2 separate regions of the Homo sapiens genome follow, and region 2 is linked to region 1. Evidence: promoter capture Hi-C in human tissues and cell types (Jung and others, 2019). All regions are on one chromosome and are shown on one strand. The core of a region is centred on a gene start or on the middle of the fragment in contact, and the rest is flanking DNA. Distances in the headings are between cores, read along the strand shown. Region 1 holds the start of EIF4G3 (eukaryotic translation initiation factor 4 gamma 3). Region 2 has its middle 72 kb from the start of NBPF3.

What was found. Contacts are between HindIII fragments. The study calls those that stand out against the background at their distance.
Region 2: a fragment that was not itself captured here is called in contact with the fragment with the promoter of EIF4G3 in region 1 in 2 of the 25 tissues and cell types used here (dorsolateral prefrontal cortex and mesenchymal stem cells).

What each region holds. Positions count from the first base shown.
Region 1 is chr1:21,174,234-21,178,832 of GRCh38, forward strand. EIF4G3 (eukaryotic translation initiation factor 4 gamma 3) reads right to left here and starts at 2,664. Exons shown (of 37, transcript NM_001391906.1): 1 at 2,489-2,664; 2 at 1,942-2,125. RefSeq lists an enhancer at 2,579-2,628. The HindIII fragment of the contact is 22,917 bases long and covers 1-4,599 here.
Region 2 is chr1:21,365,671-21,370,269 of GRCh38, forward strand. No RefSeq gene overlaps it. Among named protein-coding and RNA genes, the nearest start is that of NBPF3, 72 kb to the right of the region's middle. The HindIII fragment of the contact is 6,019 bases long and covers 1-4,599 here.

The DNA.
Region 1 (4,599 bases), core at 1,414-3,913:
AAGTGCTTTTTATTCAAAAGAAAATTAAGTTTCAGCTTTTGTAACTACTTGAATGTTGCAACCAACTCAGAGCTTTTATAAGTCCTTCTATGAAATGCACTGAGAAAAAGCATACTTGAAACACAGCTGTATCCCAAAAAGCCACCCAATTCACCAAACAGTGTCACATTCAGCACTGTGGTCCTTACTACTCTGTACATCAAGGACACCTACTACAGGTTTCCTTTTATTTCTGTTCAATTGCCAAAACAGCTCAAAGATGCAGGTAATGAGTAATTTACGTGGTAGCACAATTCAGAAACTTAAAAGTCCTAACCGAGTATAGGCAATCAAGGTAAAAAATGAAATTAGAAAGGAATTTAAACTCACAAAGTAGTAAGCAAAGACAGGTTTAAAAGATTCAACACTGAACTCTGCCTTTAAGTAGGCAAACCAGCCAATCTTCCCCCACCCCAGAGACACTGAACAAAACCAACCAGGTTTTCCATAAGCAACGCTAAGTTATCACCACACTTTCTCATCGGTGAACAATTCCTAATTGAACAGAATCATGCAGGATAAAAACATTATGAAATCAGTACACACGTCACACTGGAATGGAATTTATCTTTACACTGCACCGCGGTGCCTGGATTGAAAATCACGAACTAGGTTTAAAGAACAGAGAAAATGACACTTGGCAGAAAACAAACAATGACCTGAAATGACTCTAGAAGGGAGATTGCTTTCCCTTCTCAAAGTAATCTATACAGACAAGAATCAAACTACAGACTGTGAAATAATCTGGGGACCTCACAGCAGTTAGCTTCTTACTTGCTCAAACATCCTACAATCTCTAAAAGTCAAACGCACGATGACACAAACATAAAAACACAACACATCTAACATCCAATCATTATTTATTGATTTACACAAATACAGTGGGTGTAGGGAGGAGGTGATGCATGATGAAATGTTATTCTCAGGTACGCAATACCTTTCTAAATCTCCGTGGAATACATGAATTCAACGTTTTACCTTCACCGGCTAGTTTTTGACTAAAATACCCCATCACCAAGTCTTTTCAATCAAAGCTCTCCAAAATTCTACAATCGAGCAAATAACATGAAATTAGAAACATTCAATACTAGACTTTCCTCCAGAAGCCCTGGTAACTCTCTAGACATCAGGCCTATGAGGAGTAAATTAAAGCCCATTAAAAATATTCAGCCTAACACAAATCTTCCAAGAAGTGAGACTTTTGTGGGTGATGGGTAATGTCGGTGAACTTCCTCTTCCTTTAAAAAGGTCAAAGACAGGGAAGCGTCCGGCGTCACATTTCCTCCTCAGATCTCTACCACAAACCACATCACAACTCTCCCATTACTAAAAAAAATTATCCAGAGGAACTGCTTTCTGTACATTTTCACCTTAGACTGAAAATCCAACATACCTCGGAAACGAGCTGATTGGTTTCAAACAAGAAATTTACCGATAAAGTTTATTATGTACTAATAATAATTATGGAAGCCCACTGTGTCCCGCTGTAGGGGGAGCCGAGGGGAGGTGAAGAGCAGGAGGGTGTAATCCTCACAACAACCAGAGAAAAGCCTTCCCTGCAGGGTTGGTCCCAGGCACCAAGCAAATTCTGCCCAATAAAGGGGGGGAGGGTACCTTAGGGGAGGAGGGGAGAAGGGACCCCAAGCTCTAAAAGGAAGGGGCTGCAGAAGCATGGCCAAGTGGGGCTAGCTTTCACAGTATTGCAGAGGGTCTGGGGGTCCCCCCGCAGTGCTGCTGCCGGGGCACCCCAAAAGCTCCGCCCAAGCCCGATGCAGGGGCTTGAGCCGCTGTCCCTTTCCTGGCTGGGCTGTGGCGGCCGGCAGGAGGGTCCCCTGGGCTGCGGGGTCCCCCTGGACTGCGACGACGAGAACCGAAGGGCCGACAGGAAGGTGAAAAGGATACTGTTGGGGCGCCTGAGTCTGGAGGGCCCTGATGTTCGGGTGAGGAGGGGGGACCGCTGCCGCCGCCGCCGCCGCCGCCGCCGCCGCCGCCGCTGCTGCCGCCGCCGGGTGAGGAGGCGGTACCGCTGCTGCCGCCGCCGCCGCCGCTCCGGTGCCGGGTCCGGTTCCTGCTGCAGTCGCTGTGCCTGATTTCAGAGCCGGTTTCTGCGGTAAACTCATGGCAAAGCGAAGCCACCAACCCCCCCAGAGCGGGACCGGGCGCGCCGGGGTGCAGGGGCCGGGGGCAGCGGGGGGGCGGGATGGGGGCAGACCCGGGGAGGCGGCGGGAGCGGGGGGCTGGGGGGAGCCTGGGGGGAGGAGGAGGAGGGGGCCGGGGCCGGTCACACACGCCCGACGCCGCCGCCGCCGCCGCCGCCGCCTCCGCCGCCGCCGCCGCCGGCAGCAGCAGCCGCCCCGCGGGCCAGCACCACCGGCTGCCGGTCTCCGTGACAACGCGACCCCAGGGGGGGGGCCGGACCCGGCGGGGGCAGGAGGCGGAGAGACCGGACCTTTCACGGCAATATCCTCATGGGCCGGCGGCGGGGGATCTTTATCCCCCTCCCCGGAGGAAGCGGCGCCCTTCTCGGTAGCGGGGCTCAGGCGATGCCGGTGGATTTTCTTCACTCAACGAGCAGAGCATCCAACATGGCGCTGTGGCCGCCTCCAGCAGTCCGGCAGGACGGCTGCTCGGAAAACTTCGGACTTTTTCGGAATGGCTCGGGAAACCGAGGGTGGGAAGCCTCTTCGGCTCTTTCCGGAGACTGCTAGGGGTCGGGATTCTTCGGAGACGCTCGGGTGCGTCCTCGGCCGCCGTTCGGGAGGGCTCAGGGGCTAACTCGCTTCCTCGGCAAAGATCGGCGAGGGAGGCTTCGCTGGCTTACAGCGGCGCGGGTGCGGGGCGGAGGGAAAGACCAAAGGCGAGGTCTGGCTTGCGAGAGTCCTCCCCTGCGGCCCAGCCTCGAAGAACAATGGTAATGGCCCCGGAGTCGGCTGTTCGCTGAGCCCCGCTCGCAGGGGCGGAGAGGCAGCGGCGAGGCGAAAAACCCCTGGAGAAGGAACCGCTTAACCGGAATGGAACCCGTTGGATAGGGACCCCCCGCGGGGACTTCGCGTAACCAATGCCACCCGCCGGCCTGTAACCCACGCATTTCACACCCATTGTGTCGACACTTCCTCAGACGCTCTGAGAGGTGAATGAGGAGCCCCATTTCCAGAGGACACAGAGGAAAAGTGACTAGCCCAAGGTCACCCTATCGGGAAAGGACAGAGCCTAAATCTAAATGCCACCTTCATCTGGATGAACCTTGCCGCCTCCCATATTGGCTGGGGACATGACCTGAGCCGCCATATCTAATCAGCAGCCTTAACTGAGCTCTGTGGATGGATTCAAACCTAGGCCTTCCCCAGGACTGGAGCGCCCTTTGACCAGCAGCCAGTGATCAGCTCCCCAATGTCCTATGCTGGGTGACATTTGTTGATAAGGATTTTCTTCCCAGCTAGACCTGCCAAGATCACTCCCACCCCCAACCCCGCACACCCCACTCCTTAGCAGGTGCCTTGTCCTAAGCACAGTGGCATTGAGTGGGAAAGAATGGCAGGCATCGGCCGGGCGCGGTGGCTCACGCCTGTAATCCCAGCACTTTGGGAGGCCAAGGCCGGTGGATCACTTGAGGTCAGGAGTTCAAGACCAGCCTTGCCAACATGATGAAACCTCGTCTCTACTAAAAATACAAAAATTAGCCAGGCGTGGTGGCAGGCACCAGCTACTCGGGAGGCTGAGGCGGGAGAATCACTTGAACCCAGGAGGCGGAGGTTGCAGTGAGCTGAGAGAGTGCCATTGCACACTAGCCTGGGCGCGACAGAGTGAGGCTTCGTCTCAAAAAAAAAAAAAAAATGGCAGGCGTCATGGAGCAATCAAGTTTTAATATAATATTTACCAGACATGGCACTAAGCGCTGTACCCTTCATTATCTCAAGCAGTCCTGTGAAATAGGTAGTATCCATTTTACAAATGAATAAACTGAGACTGGGGAGGCTCAATACCATCAAACCACAGAAAAGCTGAGAAAATTGAGGCTCAAAACGCACAAAAGACTTCCCCGAGGTCGCACCGACAGTGTGGCTGGCAGAGCTAAGATTAGAGTCTAGTTCTGACTCCTGCTATCCTGCTTCACACACTGCCTTACTATTTTGTTGTTGCTGTTTTTTGAGACGGAGTTTCGCTCTTGTTGCCCAGGCTGGAGTGCAATGGCACGATCTCGGCTCACGGAAACCTCCGCCTCCCATGTTCAAGCGATTCTCTTGCCTCAGCCTCCCGAGTAGCTGGGATTAGAGGCATGCGCTACCACGCCTGGCTAATTTTGTACTTTTAGTAGAGACGGTGATTCTCCATGTTGGTCAGTCTGGTCTCAAACTCCCAACCTCAGGTGATCTGCCTGCCTCGGCCTCCCAAAGTGCTGGGATTACAGGCGTGAGCCACCGCGCCTGGCCTATTGTTGTTTTTAATTCATATAAAGCTCTACACATAGTGGATGCTTAATTCGTGACAATCCCTGGGAGCCCCAAATGCTCCTTCTAGGATAAAAGAGCATCTGAAAGAGAGTGATACCACAACCCCCCT
Region 2 (4,599 bases), core at 721-3,220, 190 kb after region 1:
CAGAGCAAGACCCTGTCTCTAAATAAATAAATAAATAAATAAATAAATAAATAAATGCTGGCTGGGGATGGTGGTTCATGGCTGTAATCCCAGCACTTTGGGAGGCCGCAGGTGGGAGGATCACTTGAGTTCAGGAGTTTCAGAACAGCCTGGGCAACATAGAGAGATCCCATCTCTACTTTTTTTTTGAGATGGAGTCACGCTCTGTCGCCCAGGCTGGAGTGCAGTGGCACGATCTCGGCTCACTGCAAGCTCCGCCTCCCGGGTTCATGCCATTCTCCTGCCTCAGCCTCCCGAGTAGCTGGGACTATGGCACCTGCCACAACGCCCAGCTAATTTTTTGTTTTTTTAGTAGAGATGGGGTTTCACTGTGTTAGCCAGGATGGTCTCGATCTCCTGACCTTGTGATCCACCCGCCTTGGCCTCCCAAAGTGCTGGGATTACAGGCATGAGCCACTGTGCCCGGCCCCCCATCTCTACTTTCAAAGAATTAGCTGGGTACGATGGTGGATACCTATGGTCCCAGCTACTTGGGAAGCTGAGATGGGAGGACTGCTTGAGCCCAGGAGTTAGAGGCTGCAGTGAGCCATGATGATTCCACTGCATGCCAGCCTGATTAATAAAGCAAGACTGTCTCAAATTATAAAAAATAAGAAAGTTGTACATCATTATAATGCAATATTATTCAGCAACAAAAAGGAATGAGGCACTGACATGCTATGACATGTACAAGCTTAAAAATCATTATACCAAATAAAAGAAGCCAGACACAAAGGTCGCATATTGTATGATTTCATGTGTGTGAAATGTCACAATAGGCAAATACATAGAGGCAGAAAGTACATTTGTGGTTGCCAGGTACTGGAGGGAGGACGGATGGGGAATGACTGCTAATGAGCATAAGTTTCAGGGAGATGATGAAATGTTCTGGAATTAGATAATAGTGATGGCTGCACAACTTTCTGAATACATTAAGAACCACTGACTCGGTTCACTAAGTTTTATTGTATGTGAATTATATCTGTATTTTTTTTTTTTGAGACAAAGTTTTGCCGTTGTCGCCCAGGCTGGAGTGCAGTGGCGCAATCTCAGCTCACCACAACCTCCGCCTCCCAGGTTCAAGCGATTCTCCTTCCTCAGCTTCCCAAGTAGCTGGGATTACAGGTGCCCACCACCACGTCCAGCTAATTTTTGTATTTTTAGTAGAGATGGGGTTTCCCCATGTTGGCCAGGCTAGTCTCAAACTCCTGGCCTCAGGTGATCCACCCGCCTCGGCCTCCCAAAGTGCTGGGATGACAGGTGTGAGCCACCACGCTCGGCCTGTAACTGTATTTTTTAAAAGCCTTGTTATGCCTCTAATCTCAGCACTTTGGGGGGCCGACGTGGTAGGATCACTTGATCCTAGGAGTTTGAGACCAGCCTGGGCAACATAGCAAGACCCCATCTCTACAAAAATAAAGTTAACTGGGTGTGATGGCGAATGCCTGTCATCCTAGCTACATGGGAGGCTGAGGGGGGAGCATAGCTTGAACCCAGGAGGTCGAGGCTGCAGTGAGCTATGATTGTGTCACTGCAATCTAGCCTGGGTGACAGACTGAGACCCTGTTTCAAAAAAAAAAATCCAAAACAAAACATCTTGTACACAAATGTTTACAGCAGCATTATTCATAATAGCCTAACGTGGAAACAACCCAAATGTCCATCCGCTGATTAATGGAGAAACAAGATGTGGTCTATCCACACATTAGAATATTATTCAACCATAAAAAGGAGTGAAATACATATACATGCTACAACATGGATGAACCTGGAAAACATACTAAGTGAAAGAAACCAGTCACAAAAGTTTACATTTTGCATTATCCTATTTATACGAAATGTCAAGAATAGGCAAATCTATACAGACAGAAAGGAGAGGAGTACCTGCCTAGGCCTGGGAGTGACTGCCAATGGGTACGAGGTTTCTTTTGGGGTAAAAATGTCCTGAAATTGGGTTACAGTAATGGTTGTATAAATCTCTCTACATACTAGAAATCATTGTATTAGGCCGGGCGCAGTGGCTCACGCCTGTAATCCCAGCACTTTGGGAGGCTGAGCTGGGTGGATCACAAGGTCAGGAGATCGACACCATCCTGGCTAACACGGCGAAACCCCGTCTCTACTGAAAATACAAAAAAAAATTTGCCGGGCGCGGTAGCGGGCGCCTGTAGTCCCAGCTACTCGGGAGGCTGAGGCAGGAGAATGGCGTGTACCCGGGAGGCGGAGCTTGCAGTGAACCGAGATCGTGCCACTGCACTCCAGCCTGGGCGACAGAGCGAGACTCTGTCTCAAAAAAGAAAAAAAAAAAAAAAAGAAATCATTGTATTGTACATTCTAAATGAGTGAACTTTTATGACATATACATTATATCTCAACAAAGCCTTTTAAAAAGTTTATTGAATGGGCTGGGCGCAGTGGCTCACACCTGTAATCCTAGCACTTTGGGAAGCTGAGAGCTGGGCGGATCACCTGAAGTCGGGAATTCGAGACCAGCCTGGCCAATATGGCGAAACCCCAGCTCTACTAAAAATACAAAACTTAGCCGGGTGTGGTGGTGCGTGCCTGTAATCCTAGCTACTTGGGAATCTGAAGCAGGGGAATTGCGTGACCCCTGGAGACGGAGGTGGCAGTGAGCTGAGGTCGCGCTGCTGCACTCCAGCCTGGGCAACAGAGCAAGACTCCATCTCAAAAAAAAAAAAAGTTTATTGAATGAACGAGGAGAAGATAAAGTGGAAGGAAGATAAGGAGGGAAAACAGTTGAGAAACTGCCCTAGGTCTGGACAGAGCTGATTCCCTAAGACACCCCCGCTGGGAAGCCTGGTTCACCCTTTAGTCCCCTCCCTTCCTTCCTTTCTTCCTTTCTCCTCCCCTCTCCTTTCCCACGGTCTGTGATTCTGGTGGAAACTCTGGCCCAAGCTGGGCTGGCAGGAGGAGCCACCTGCCACGGTGCACGGCTGTCCCCTGGTGGCGATCTAAAGTGAAGACTTGGGAATGTGGTCAAGGTGGGAGGCCTGGGAATGGGGATTATTAGAGAGCTAGGGAAACCCTGGTGAATGAAGGGTGAAGGAGCAGAAGAAACTTCCAGAAGCCTGGAGACAGGGGAACGCCAGGGATGGAGCCCTGTGACACTTTGCTAAGCTTCTGAGGTTGATACTGGGATTCTGATTATTACTGTGCCGGTCTCCACGTCTGTTTCCTGTCTCCTCCGGCAGTGATGTGGGCACCAGGAGGGAAGGGGTGTGTCTGCTGATGCATGCTGCCTCCCCAGCACCTAGCACAGTGCTTGGCACTGAGTAGGTGCTCACTAAAAATATGTGGACTGCAGTTGGTTATAGTAGGAGGAACAGAGAGAGAAGCCTGGGCTTGAAGCCAGTGTTCATCCTGTCAATCCAGTGACTTGGATAAGTCCTGTGACCCTGGTGAGCCTGAATTGGCTCACTTACCTGTGTTGTGGGGAGAATAACCCTTCTCTCTCAGAGTCATAGTGAATTTAAATGATCACATTTGCATATAGCTTCAGGCTCATCCTAGGAGCTCCTGGCAGCCAGGAATGGTAAAGAGGCACCACATCCTACACCTGGGTCTGCAGGCCCATAGAGGGGACCCAGCAACTTCACTGACTTGCTGGGGGATGTCAGCCAAGTCCCTTTACATTCTAGGACTCTGTTAGCTCCCTTTTAAAATAAGGAGAATAAGGCCAGGCATGGTGGCTCATGCCTGTAATCCCAGCACTTTGGGAGGCCAAGGCAGGCAGATCACTTGAGGTCAGGAGTTCGAATCCAGCCTGGCCAACATGGTGAAACTCTGTCTCTACTAAAAATACAAAAATTAGCCGGGTGTGGTGGCACGTACCTGTAGTCCCAGCTATTTGGGAGCCTGAGGCAGGAGAATCACTTGAACCCGGGAGGCAGAGGTTGCAGTGAGCAGAGATCACGCCACTGCACTCCAGCCTGGGCGATAGAACAAGACTCCATCTCCAAAAAAACACAAAGTAAAAAAGAAATATGCGTAAGAGTTTTGCATACTTTGTTGGCACTGTGAGGTCTCCTCTGAGAGTTGGGGAGGCCATACAGGCTGTATTTGTGGGAGGAGCATTGAGGGTGTGGAGTGAATGGCAAAGGTTTCATCCCACGTTGTGGAAAGTGGGAGAGAAGGTTTAAGGAGGTGATGAATTTAAAGAGCCCGGTGCAGCTCTGACTCCTGAGGGAGAGCTGGGCTAATGTTGGCTGTTCTCGTTCTCCTTATTAATTATATTGGGGCACTTTTGGAGGCCAAGGCGGGAGGATCGCTTGAACCTAGGAGTTCAAGACCAGCCTGGGCAACATAGTGAGACCCCATCTCTACAAAAAATAAAACAATTAGCCAGGCATGGTAGTGTATGCCTGATGCTGAGGCGGGAGGGTCACTTGAGCCCAGGAGGTCAAGGCTGCAGTGAGCTATGATTGCACCACTGTACTCTAGCCTGGGCAAGAGAGCAAGACCCTGTCCTTAAGGGGGGGAGGGGAAAGTATTGGGTTCAAACCCAGCACTATCCCTTAGTTAAGTGACTTATCTCAGTGT